2 separate regions of the Homo sapiens genome follow, and region 2 is linked to region 1. The links are contacts of gene promoters, found by promoter capture Hi-C in human tissues and cell types (Jung and others, 2019). All regions are on one chromosome and are shown on one strand. Each heading gives the region's core, a stretch centred on a gene start or on the middle of the fragment in contact. The rest is flanking DNA. Distances are from core to core; before and after follow the strand shown. Region 1 holds the start of DGKI (diacylglycerol kinase iota). Region 2 overlaps DGKI (diacylglycerol kinase iota).

Region 1 (6,773 bases), core at 3,204-5,703:
ATAAGTAATGGTCTGCCCAGACATACTGACAAGCAAAATTGTACTTCATCACTCATTCTGTGCTGCCCAAAGAGGTACCGATGGGCCAGCTCTTCATTGGACCTAGGTTCGCCTACACAACCCTGTGTAAATTTTTTTTTAAGGCATATAAACCTCTAACGAGGATATCTTCATAGCAGGTGCATGTAGGTGGTTTTGTTCTCAGAAGCAAAACTGATATATTTGCAATCATGAATTTATATTCATTTATATTTCTGAGATAGTAGAAGAGTTCCCTAAAATTATATAGACAAAGGGCCACAAGCCAAAAAAAGGTATGCAATAATATATAATAATAATAATATGTAATGACCTGCCGTGTATTACAGATGAGGGGGAAGATAACTCACACTGCACACACGCATGCATACACATATGCACACATGGACAGAGAGCTCAAGCCTAAAATAAATGTTTAGGGAAGCAGCGTGATGCGGTCTAAAGAGACAGTCCTTTGGAGTCATCTGTGTTTTAAATTCTGCCTCCTGCCCAAGCTCTATGCCTCAAGTTCATTTTCAATAAAATGGAAATAGTCATAGTCACATCACAGGACTGTCACAAAGATTAATTAAGACAGAATATACAATAAGGCTTAGCCCAGTGCCTGTTGCATAGAAGACAATAAACATCAGCTACCTTCTCCTTCCCCTCCCTTATGTGTTTCTGAAGTCTTTTTTTTTTTATTGTACTGACTTATATGGGAATTCTTACAGCAGTTTAAAAAAAAAAACAGTTCCTACACAGTATATAGTCATTTACACATATGTATCTGTTGCAGCACCATAATTTGCAAAGAAAAACGAAGTAGTAATTTTAAAAGAAAAGTACCAGCTCACTCGCACTGCCTTTTCAAACCTTCAGCTTTACAGTCGACAGAGACTATTTGCTCTAGGGGTGCAGATTCTGAAATAAAGGAAAAAATTCTCATGGGAAAAATGGTTCTCAAAAAAAGCCAACACAGAATAGATAATGAGGGGAAATCTAGGAGTACAGAAAGCAGTTTATTTTACTTAACAAAGTAAAAGTCAAGCAAAATGAATAATCTGCCTCCAGAAATGGTTATTTAAAGGCTTTTTGTAAAGGGCTCTGGTTCCTAAAAAGACAGGAGTCACTGCATATGCCCACCCACTCCTCATTTATTTTTAAACCCTAGCTTATATGTTCCTTAGCAACAGAAGGAGCAGATGAGACCCCCCTACACACACACACACACACACACACACACACACACACACACCCTCTCTCCCAAAGCCCCCTTCTTTTTGCCTGTCAAGTTTCATTCCAAAAATACACATGTTCTTCAAAAGATATTTTTTGCCTACCTGCAAATCTCCACTCCTCCACCTCAAATGATCCCCCTCACGCAAGCAGCCATGCTCCATACCCTAACTCAGTCCTTTCACTCAGACTCCATTCTGTGAGGTCTTCCTGCCTCCTCTCCATAAGCTCCCACCAGACACTGTCCTCAGGTGCCCCCAGAAGGGAGGTGGTGTGGTCCCCACCAAGGAGCCGACCCTCAGCTCCTGACAAACCTGCTCTTTTTTTACACACCCTTCATCCATCCCACAGTAAAACAGCCAGCCCTGCTGCAGGAGTCCAGCACCAATGGCCGCCATGACGAGTGGGCAGGCCATTCACCATTACTCCAAAACAAATAAGTAACAGTGATCAAAATGGAGACAATTTCCTGTTACCCAGGCACAAACATGCTCCAGATGGAAGCACCTCCTTTTCACCATCTTTCCTCTGACTTTGAGACTGACTGGCCTGGTTTGGATGGGGAGGGTTTATGAGTTCAAAGATCAATTGTTTAGTCTTGGGGGCAAAATAGGGTGGCAATCCCCATATATTAGTCTGCATAAACATCGCCTGAGGAGCGTGTTAAAAATTCTCACCCACAGACAGTTTGATTCTGCAAGTCTAGGGTGGTGAGCACTTTTAACCAGACACCTGAGGTGACACTGATGCAGGAATTGGAGACTGTAAAGCTTTATTTAAAAGGAAATGATGTTCACGAAGTAGAATCCACCTCTATGTAAGGATTGTAAAGCAGACGCAATGTTATTATTCTTCTATAGAAACATGCTGCGTCTGTGTCCATGTCTATGCTTGTGTGTGTACACACTTACACGTGCATGTGTGAGCATGCAACTCAGAAAGCCAAAACCCCACACAACATACATTTTAAAAAAGGAGGCTCAGAGAATGACCCCTGACAAGAGGCAAGCTGAAATGATTTCCCTTGCAAACTCTGGCTTTGTCTTCCTACCCAGTGAGGACTCTGATGAATACCAATAAGCCAGGAGCAGCCTACACTGTGCTTCATGTAATCACCACCCCCTTCCAACTCACAGCTCCTAAATTAGGCTGAATGTAGTCCCTGTTCCCCCAGGGGCCAGACGGGCCATCATAACTAGGAAGTAGAACTGCCAGTGTCCTAGCATACCTCCCTAGAGCTACCCCCTCCCCACCATCTGTCTATTTTTAGAAACCAAAGTATAAAAAGAAAGATCCATTTGGACCTGATCTGTGTGAGTAACTAAGAGAACAACTCAGGTGGGGAACTCCCTCAGCGCACAGCGAACAAAATGCATGGGAGGAACGCAGAAGCAACAACCTCACCAGGAAGGCGTTTTAGGAGTCATCAGAAGTCAACACTTAGACACAGAGCACATGCCCTAGTGACTGTGGCCTCCAGGCCAGGCGATGTCTATGGGGATCCCAATTATTCACACACCTGCCCCCATAAATAAAACACACCCTCCCAAACCCACACACCTCTGTCATCTGCGTTTGCTTACATAACAGCACATGGTGTGACAGGCTTAATACTTTATATGGTTTTTGGGAAGGGAACACTAACTCAGAAAGAGTAGGGTTACAAGAATGTTTTCACTGACCCCTTTTCCAGAAACCCTCTGAGCTCCAGCAAGTGTACATCTTTGTAAACCTATGCTTGCATATCACCTCGACCTTTAACATCGATAAGCAGTAGGGTTAGTGTCAACAACTCTCCAAACCTGTCAATGTCTTTATTCTTGCCTGCGGAAGGGAGGGGTGAGAGAGACCTTAATAAATCCTAATTCCTCGTTGTTGGATTCTAATACAATGTGGGGTTATCTTTTATCCTAATTTAAAGGCCATTGATCCCACACTGTCCTTGTCTTACACATACACTCATCCTTAGGTGCAAATATGGTCCCCACTCTCACCTTCACCCCTAGCTTGCCAGCGGGCTCCCCACACCCTCCTCCAGCCAGGAGAGAGGCAAGGAGCACGCAGGCATGGAGCCCCCATAACCAGTGGCGCATCTACAGACATAAACCCACTCTTCCTTCATGGGGGATTTCGAGGCAGGTCCAACTTCCATAAGGATTTCTCTTCAGTGTAGTGCTATTCTTTTCTGCCTGTCGGAGTGATCTCAGCTGTCAAGTTAGTGCCAAAGGTTCATCCAGCGAAATCTGGAAGGTGGGGGAAGGGTGGTTGAAGATGACACCTGCTTAGGGGCAACTTTGACGACTTCTCTTAAGAAAACTAAGCATCACTGAGTCTGCAACCCTTTCTCTCTCTCTCTTTCTCTCTCTCTCTCTCTCTCTCTCTCTCACACACACACACACACACACACACACACACACACACACACAGACAAAATTTCTGTTGCTCTGACCTTAGGGACCCAGTGCTTCTCTCCTGCCACAGGGGAAAGCAGGCGTTGCTGCCCTCCAGCCTGGAATGATAGGATGGGGAGAAGACAGACATCCCCGGGAGGAGAGGGGGAAAGGGGGAAGGAGAGGCGTGGAAACAGAGAGGTGCCCAACTCCGCGGAAGCGCCCCTTGCTGGGTAGAAGAGTGGGTCTCCCGCCGCGGCGCACCTGTCTCGGCTGCCGGCTCCCCGCACCTACCTGTACGAGACCTGCTTCCGGAAAGTTAAGTTCCTCAGCTTCTCCTCCAGCGCTTCGTCCTTCTCCTTCTGGCCGGCGGCCGCGGGCTCGTCCAGGGCAGCGGCCCCCGCCGCCGCGGCTGACCCTGCGCCCCGCGGGTCCGCGCCGCCCTCGGCGCCCAGGCAGCAGCTCCCGGCGCCGCTTCCGCTGCTGCTGCTGCCGCCCGTCGCCCCTTTCTCCTCTCCCGCCGAGGAGCTGGGGTTCATGGCGCCCGCTCCGGCGGCCGCGGAGGGAGCGCAGGCGGCGCCGCTGCAGGGGCCGGGCGGGCTGGCGGCGGCGGCGGCGGCGGCTGCAGGAGCGCGGGCAGGTCCGCGCGCCGCTGGCAGGGGCAGCAAATGGCAGCCCCTTCCCGCAGCATCCATCCGCGGCTGCACCGCACCGGGGCATTGTGGGAAACTCCGCTCACTCCCCCGCCCCGGCCAATCAGAGGCCGCCGCTCCCCGCCTCCCGCGCCCTCCCGCGCCGGCCCGCACCCTCCAGCCCCGCCGGCCTCTTCCTAAATCCCGAGCGAAAGCCCAAGCTGAACATGAACTCTGCCCGGAGGCGACGGGCTGCGGCGGAGGGGGAGAGAGAGGAGGACAGGCTGCGACCCCGGGCTGGGGACGCCAGGGCAGGGACAGCGAGCATCAGGAAGGAGAGCGTCCGGGGAACTCGAGTGGCCGCGCCCTGGGTCCTGCACCGTGAGGCTGGGGGGACCAGGACCGGCGGGCGCCCACCTTGGTCCTGAGCCCAGCTGCCGACGCTGGGCCAGCACCCTCTCCACCGCCGCCCTCCAGTGAGCAGAGCTGGGCTCAGGCAGCAGCCCCTGGGCGCGGGAAGGTAGCGGGAGCTGCATTTAGGGGAGGGGGGAGGTAGCAGGAGCTCCGCCAGTGGGAACCTTGGAGTGAATTCGTCGGCGGGTGCCAAGTCGAAGCGCCGACCTCCTGTCTCTGGACTGGGGCCCGGACCCCTGCGTCCCCAAACTGCGTCCCCGCCTTGCTCGTCGCCCGGTGCCTTCCTTAGGCGCAGCAGACCCTCGGTAAACAGCGGTTAATTCGATGGAATCGGATCACAGGGCCCTCGGTGAAGCAGAAAGGCGGAGGAAATCCAGGAGGCAGAAGTGAGGACCCTGGCGCCTGGCGCCGCTGCGTTGTTCGTATAAGAAGAGGCATCCCGGAAGGGGCTTCAAACCACTTAGGACCGACTGCTGAAACGAATCCAAGCTTGTGGTGTCTGCAGAATTTAACTGTCCGCCTCAACCCCAGTTTTTGTTTCTAAGATTATCGAAAACTGTGCGGTTTGAGTGATGTGCTACAAAGTGTTTAAAACAGATTGTTTCCCAAATTAGGGGTTTCCACACAAGAAATCGCTGCTGTCGGCAAACACAGGAACTATCTATGGTTAAGACAAGGTGGTGTTCGTAACCAAACTATAAACCTACATATACGAGGTGGTAAGAGAACCAGACCAATGAACAGTTTCAGGCTGGCGTGGTGTGCCCGTGAACAAAGAATTGTAATACTGGCAAAAATCTAAATTGCTTTCTTTCCCTTTATTTTCTCATCACTAAAATTAGGAAAATGAACAGATATGTCAAATCTCTTCTAACACCCATGTTCTGTAACTCTCCTCGTATGTACCTTATAATAAGACAAAGGTAAAGACATTTCCATGTGCAGCGAGGAAAAGTAATAATAAAAATTAAAACAACTAGCAAGTATGAAGCCCTCTTTTTATACGGTATGTGCTGTATAAGCACTTCCCTCATCCACCTCTATGTTTTCACAGCACCTCTCAAGGGCTTGGACACGTGCAAATGCAAACTGGCAAAGCCAGGAGTCAAGCCAGGCTGCTCAGTGGCCTTTGTGCTTCACCCCAGTTTAATGCACCCGTCTTCAGAAGGGACATCGTGTATTAGGTGCTTCAACACAAGATCCACGAATATCTCGTACATCCCTAAAATCAAGCAAATGTCATCTGAACCCAATTACTGGGACAGCCCCCTCATTACTCCCACTTACTTTTAGCCGTATCTTCCCCAATCCAATCTCAAGTGTGAGCCCCAAAATACTTCTGATTTTTCACGCCTCCACTTAAAAATCTTTTGATTATGTCATATTGCCGTTAGGGTAAAGTTCAAACAACTCAGCTGATTTTGAGGGCTACATTGGTGGGTGGTGGAGTACTGCCCGCTTTCCCTTCATACTGTCATGACAGTGAGGTTCTGAACTGTTCTTTGTGCAAACCCCACACGCTCTCTGCTCTCTCCATTCCCATTTTTGCACGTGTGAGTCTGCTGTCTCCTCTTCTTTGCTTCTCCTTTTCCTAAGATTTGCCAAGCCAACTACTCTACACCTCCATCGGATTTTAGTTTACATGTCTCTCCCCATGTTTCTCCCCACTAGAAGCCTCCGTTGATGATCCCTTTCTAGACTGTGATGGACGTACCTCCCATAGCTCCCATTGCACCATTGTACTAAACTTGGACCACTGCAACTGTCATGTGTCTATTTATCCCACATGTATATAAACGCTATATGTTGTTTATCACTATATCTTCAGTAATAATAAACAGGTAACATAATTGCATAAGTGTGTATATCATAGACCATCATGAAGTGTTTATTGACTGAGAAAAGAAATATACATCGTTGTGAACATAATGAAAGACGTCATTTTTCAGAACAAACAGTTTGATAATAGATGGTATTGATGAGGGGGTATGAAAACAAATGCTTCCTCAAATTTTTGATATACTTTAACTAGTAAAATCTCTCTGATGGTAAATTTTACAATATCTATCCATGTTTGAAA
Region 2 (6,773 bases), core at 3,080-5,579, 110 kb before region 1:
TTACTCCTCCATACAAGTAGACAGGAAAGGTTCCTTCGGTTTCCTTCCTCCCTTCCCCCAGCCCGCCTTTTGTATTGTTGTTCACTTATTTAATAGCTGTATCTCCAAGTGGCCTCCCCGCCCCACATAGTCTCCACAACACACATACATACACACACATGCACCCCACTACCACTTCTCCCAGCCTGAAACATTCTGAGATCCCCCCCATTCTTTATAAAGAAGCCTCCTCTAGCTCGTATCCCCCTCACTTCTCAATCACTCATCAGTATCATCTCAGCTCCCAGTGTCCCACTGAACCAGCTCTCACTGAGGTCTCTGTTTTAGCAAATCCAATAGGCATTCTTCAGTCCTTATCTTAATTACTACGTCCACAACCTTTGAAATTTTTTTTTTTTGGTAAAATACATATAACATAAAATGTATCATTTAAACCATTTTAATTGCTCTGTTCTGTGGCATTAACTACATTCACATTGTTGTGGAACCATCTACCACCAACCATCTCCAGAACTTTTCATCTTCCCCAAATGAAACTCTGCAGTCACTAAACAATAACTCCTCATTCCTTCCTCCATTCAGCACCTGGTAACCACCATTCTACTTTCTGTCTCTATGTATTTGATGACTGTTAAGTACCTTATTTAAGTGAAATCATACTGTATTTGTCCTTTTGTGAGTGGCTCATTTCACTTAGCATAATGTCCTCAAGGCTCACTCATGTTGTAACATGTGGCAGAATCCTCTTACTTTTTAAGGCCAAATAGTATTCCATTGTATGTATGTACCACATCTGGTTTATCTATCCATCCATCAATGAATACTTGGATTATTTCCACCTTTGGCTTAGATGTACTACTTTTACAAAGTTTTATCCTTCTTTGCATAACTATTGCGTATCAGCTATACATCAGGTACTCTACTAAGCACTAAGTGTACATCAGTGTATAAAACAAAGAACTCTGCTTTAATCGAGCTCACATTCTGGTGGAAGAAACAGACAATGAACAATAAGTAAATCATGGGCGTGACAGAAGATGGTAAGTGCTATGCATAACTCAAAAGGTGGAGATGGGATATTAGAGTGAAAAAAGAGTTAAAATTTTAAGAGATTGGTGAAGACAGACCTCATCGAAAGGGTGGCCTCTGAGCAATGATTTGTAAGGAGGTAAGGTAGTGGTCACTTGTATGGTTTCACATGCTACCTATAAAACGATGACCACCCTCCAATCTACTTCTCCATTACTAATGCTGCTGCACAGATCCATTTGAATAGGCAACAGTTTCTATCTGAAACAAGTCTCTTCATTAACCCCCTAAAATCTCTTTCAACTGCATTCCTAATCTTCATTAATGCACTGCCATCTACTCAGTCATACAGGTGTGGTAGGCAGTCTCTCAAAGGGCCCCTGCAGATCCCTGTCTCCTGGCATTTATGCCATTGTGTAATTCCCTCCTCTAACTGTGAGCTGGACTTTGGGACTCCCTTCTAATAAACAGAATACAACAGAAGTATTGGGGAGTCTAATTTTAGCATAAAAGATGGATTTGGGGGCCAGTAGCTAGAGTGGGAGCAGGGAGATCAGGGAAGAGATGATAAAAATCTAAAAATCTACAGAATGACTGCAAGATCTCTCCTTGTGAATTCTTTCTCAATTGCTGCATTAGAAATTGCCCCAAAGCTTAGTGACTAAAAATAACATTTATTATCTCACAGATTTGCGGGTCAGGAATCTAGGAGTGGCTGGTGACGTCATTTCCAAGATGAAGATTTTAAAAGACTTCAGTTTCTGACGTGTGTGCTCTTCGTCATATCTTTTAGAGTGCTTCCACTGGGGAGAACCAGCTGCCTTCTTGTTAAGTGGCTCTGCAGAGAGGCCCCTGTGACTAGGGACCTATATCCACCTTCGAAGCAGATTCTTCAAACCCAGGTAAGTTTTGAGATGATGGCAGCCCAGCCAACAAATTGACTGCTACCTCAAGAGAAACCTTGAGCCAGAGACCCTGAGCTCAGCTACTCCTATATTCCTGACCCACAAATCTGTGAGATAATAAATATTATTTCTAGCCACTAAGCTTTAGGGCAATTTCCAATGCAGCAACAGAGAATGAATTCACAATGAGAGACCTTGCAGTCATTCTGTAGATTTTTAGAAATCCAGACTTCTGTGACTCATGACCTTTAAAGTGCCTGGCACAGAGTGCGTGATCAATAAATATTTGTCAACTACTCCCTCTCCTTTACACATCACCGCTGATCATGATGGCTTGTCAATTTGCCCTTCTATATAATTGAAAAATCTTCTGCATCCCTATTACCATTACCCTGGGTGGCTCCTTTCTCATTTCACATTGGTACCATGTTAACATCTCTTCACTGATTTCCCTGTTTCCACTCTAGCTACTGGCCCTGAAATCCATCTTTTATGCTGAAATTAGACTCATCTGTGTGAAAAACACGTCTGTCCCATTTAACACCCTTTAGGGGTGCCCTGTAACCTAAAATAAATTCCAGTCTCCTTGGCATTGCATTTTAGGGCTTCTACCTATATGTTCAAACTTATCTTTTGCTACCCTCTGCCTCATACTTTTGTTTTAGCAACGCTAATCTATTTTGCTTTTGCTTTACTAATCATCAATTCATTGCTTCCTTCTTTTGTTCATCCTGTGCTTTTGCTTGAATACTCTTTCCACCTTTCTCTATCTGGTTAGATTTTACTTATCCCCCAAGAGTCAAATCAGGAATCATCTGTCATATTTGGCCAAGTAGCCCTTTTTGTGCTCCCCAGGACCCTGAAGATACTGGTGTACAAGCATTTACCACAGTTTAGTTGTATATCTGATGCATATGATGAGGTAGACGGGTTTTTTCTTTTATAAAATAAATTATATTTTCTTGGTTGCAAGGGTACCATCTTAGATTTTGAAATGTCAATTGAATAGCAAGTCATTTTCTTGGGATTCAGAAGTGCCAGTATATAAACTTGGTCACTACAAAGAAAGCAGAGCAAACTGCATAAGGATTCCAAAGCAATTCTGGGAAGAAAGGAAGCAAAACCTCAACTCTTAGTACTCCAAATGTAAAGTTAAGCACACCGATTAGGATAGACCAGAGCAGACCCTACCAAGACCCAGCAACAGGGAAGAACAACAATTCCTGAGAAATGAAATTATAGGAGCAAGAGCTGAGGCTCATGGCCACACTAAACGCCTGTGCTAGCTACCGTCCGCTATGTCAGTGACATTGCATGCTTTTGTGGACTCTACTACCCTGAACAGTGAGTGTACATCAATGAACAGTGGCTGAAAATGACAGTAGGACCATAACCTGAGCACTGGACACAGGGCCCCACACACAGATCACACATGTTGTGTAGAAAGCCACTCAACATTGGTAAACACAGTGTTTAATTTTTCACATAGCTCTTTCCTATCCTTCCCTGCTTCAGTTCATTCTAATTTCTCCTAAGATAAGCCAAGAGAAATTTCAGAGAAGATGTCATTAATTTGGTTCCAATCTCTTAATAAATGTCCAAACAGATTTTGCAACCTGATCATTATGAATGCTGGAAACATCAGTAAACCATTTCCAGTATTAAAATATATTTAGCATGCAATCTCCATCAAGCTAGGTTGCACGAGGCATCTTATTGTAAGGCTAATGTAGGGGTTCTGGAGCCAAATAAACCTGAATTTCAGACATGGCTCAACCTCTTACCGTGTGACAGTGGGCAAATTATTTAGCTCCTCTATGGCTTATTTTGCAAAGGCAAAATGGGATTAATAGCAGACCTTACCTCTTCACGTTGCTGTGAAGAATAAATGAGAGAATGCACTAAAGTGCTCAGCAATCAATAAATTTAACTTCTAAAATGGGCAGCTGAAAGAGACAACACTTACAACCTTTTAATACGAGAAGGTCAAACAACCACCCCACAAATTGCATCCTGTTTGTCCTAAGTGAAATAACATCTAGGAAAAATACTGAAAGTAACGGGAACTTGAAATTGACCATATGGGATCTTCTGTGGGTTACAAAAATAGCATAATTTAATCAGAAACCCCTAGCTTCCAAGAAGCCTGAATGAGTATGAAGAGAAAATAGATTTTGTCAATCAAGACCTTGTTGCAGGCCCTCAACATTAGATACAGAACCATGATTAAATTAATCAGAGGTCATACAGATCACAGTAAGAGATAAGCAGTCTATTCAGTTTTTCTTTTTCATATCTACCCTCATATCACTAATGACTGTGGCTTTAAATAATAATCTTTGTTATCTCTTATAAGCCAGATTGAATCAAAGTTTGGGCAATCTTTGAACTAACTCTTAAAAATCAAGTCTGGTGGGTTCCGAAAAATTGGACGGAAAACTATTAAAGCTAAACGTGATTGGACAGCACGAAATATGACAGTGTTTTAAAATCATAAACATTGAAATACTTAGTTCCCTATGCTGGGTCTGTGCATACTCACTAAATGGTATTAGTTTTACTTCAAAGCATTCAAATATGCCTCATTTCACCAAAAAAAAAAAAAAAAAAAAAATACATACAAATTTTCAAAGCAGAAACATGAGATAACTATTTGTATTAGAAAAGATTCTTGATTTACAAGAAATACTCATGGAAGGAGAACTTTCAACAGCAAGTTTCCCTGGAATACAAAGAAACATTATTTGCAGAAATTGAATCTGCATTCTATTCATAATATAAAGGCAAATCTGTTCCATGCATTTAAGGAATTAATAAAAGTAACTAACATCTTACTGTCATAAAATACAAACACAAGCAAAAACCTTGATGATAATGGACTTTAGTCCCTTCGTTTTATTAAAAAAAAAAAAAGTTAAGTTTAAGCAGGTGACATGAAAGCTCATCTCTGATAGACTTCGGAATGGAACCCAGAACCTCTTACTTGAGCCCAAGGCATTTCCTATCAACCCAAATTACATCTCCTGTTTCCCTACATATTATTTAGATACTGTATTTTGAAATGCCTCTAAACATTAGCTGTCAGTTTTTAAGAAGCTAAGAATCAATGCCTCCCATATATTACTATCTTCATATAAAAGCAAATCAATCTGGAATTAAGCAAAGTGTGGCAGAATAAATACACTAAACTGAACAAGAGCCCTGGCCACATGGAACCTATCTGCACACAACCACATCCTTGGGAATCTGAGACTTCACCACAGTGGAGCTAGGAAAAAAATGGGACCATTAATTTATTCAATAATTTCTATGATTAATCTGCGTGCCACAAGTTCTGTGCAAAGAACTGGGGATAACACAAGGGATAAGACAGAAACAGTCTTTACCGTTTAGCAAGACTAATAGCCAAGCTTTATTAAGAGTTTTCATGTTCTAGGCACAGTGCTAAGCAATACTCAAGGATTTTCTCATTTAATACATTCAATATATAGCCCTATAAAATATGTCCTATGTTTATTACCATTTTGTAGATGCGGAATGAAATACAGACAAATTAATGCAGTTAGCAGGACCACATGACACTGATTAAGTTAATCGGTGTAATGTAGATACTAAGTGACAAAAGTAGAATTTGAAAGCAGATCTCGAGGGCTGGACCCTTAGCTGCTGTGCTATACTGACTCCAAGCTACTAGGAGAGACACATATTAAATACATACCTCTACACAATTATATGTATAATCTAATTATAATGGGTTATACAAAGGAGAACTTTGGGCTACCTGAAGAGCATTTATAAGAAGGATCTAGTCACTGTAAGATAGGGCTATTTTCACTACCAAAGAATTATTCACAATGGTATGGTGATATTTACCTTTCAATATAAAATGCCATATTAATAAACTGCATTTGTAGGATGTGCTAAAAACAAAAAGATGTGTTTATAAACTTTAAGCATTAACCACTGAGACCAACCTGACTTTGTCCATTCAAATTCCAGCTCCCAGAGAAAACTTCCTCTTGTACAGTTTTGGGCTTGGAAAATATCCTTCAAACTATCTAGCCCTGTCTTATGTGAACACTTTTTTAGAAATTCACAGAGAAGATGAGGTTCCCCCCCCCCCTTTCCTTTTCATATCCGATTTACTAGATACTCATTGTAAAGTCTGCCAGACTTCCATTGTCTATTTTCTTTGATACAATTTTGAAAGTATCCATCATCAGCCAAACCAGAACACGCAGGTCTGGTTTCATCCTAACTGTTCATGCCCATAACCATAAAAAAGAAGACACAGATTCATCCCTCATCCCTCAGGTCTCGTTGATTTGTGCCAAATGAGGGCAATTACTAGACATATGGACACCTCCTCTACCTAATGAAAAGCTGACTCCCTCATTCAGTCATGTTTTTTATCCAAATATGTTTTAAGTGAACCAGCAAAACCATGCAGAGCCACTTCACAGAGTATGCAGTTTGTGGACTGAAAATAGAGGGATCAGGAGCTGAAATCCAGCCCATGCTCAGCACTCTGAGCCACGTGTCTCAGCATGGATCTACATCCACCTGAAAGAAGGGCATCTCTTCCTTTGCACCAAGTAACCTCAGCTTGCCAAGTCAAGTGCCTAAAGGGCTGTTTTCTCCTACGGCACATTTTTCAACATTCACATCAGGTATCCTATTGTCTACCCAGTGTCATAGGACTATTTGACCTGTGAAATCACATCTCCCTGGGTCTCATTTTCCTCATCTCTAAAATGAAAAGACGGGCAAAATAAATTCTAAACCTCCTTCCATGTTAAAAACTCTAAAGAACAAACAACCTAGGCTTCCCTGGCTCTT

The links. The method cuts DNA at HindIII sites, captures the fragments that hold promoters and counts their contacts. A contact is called where the count stands out against the background at its distance.
Region 2: a fragment that was not itself captured here is called in contact with the fragment with the promoter of DGKI in region 1 in 4 of the 25 tissues and cell types used here (IMR-90 fibroblasts, aorta, neural progenitor cells and 1 more).

The regions. Positions count from the first base shown.
Region 1 is chr7:137,842,521-137,849,293 of GRCh38, forward strand. It overlaps DGKI (diacylglycerol kinase iota), which reads right to left and starts at 4,454. Exons shown (of 33, transcript NM_001321708.2): 1 at 3,942-4,454. The coding sequence starts at 4,342. RefSeq lists an enhancer at 3,293-3,794 and silencers at 4,429-4,478, 4,963-5,257. The HindIII fragment of the contact is 10,065 bases long and covers 1-6,773 here.
Region 2 is chr7:137,732,679-137,739,451 of GRCh38, forward strand. All of the region lies in intron 1 of DGKI (diacylglycerol kinase iota), which reads right to left. Among named protein-coding and RNA genes, the nearest start is that of DGKI, 110 kb to the right of the region's middle. The HindIII fragment of the contact is 4,900 bases long and covers 1,880-6,773 here.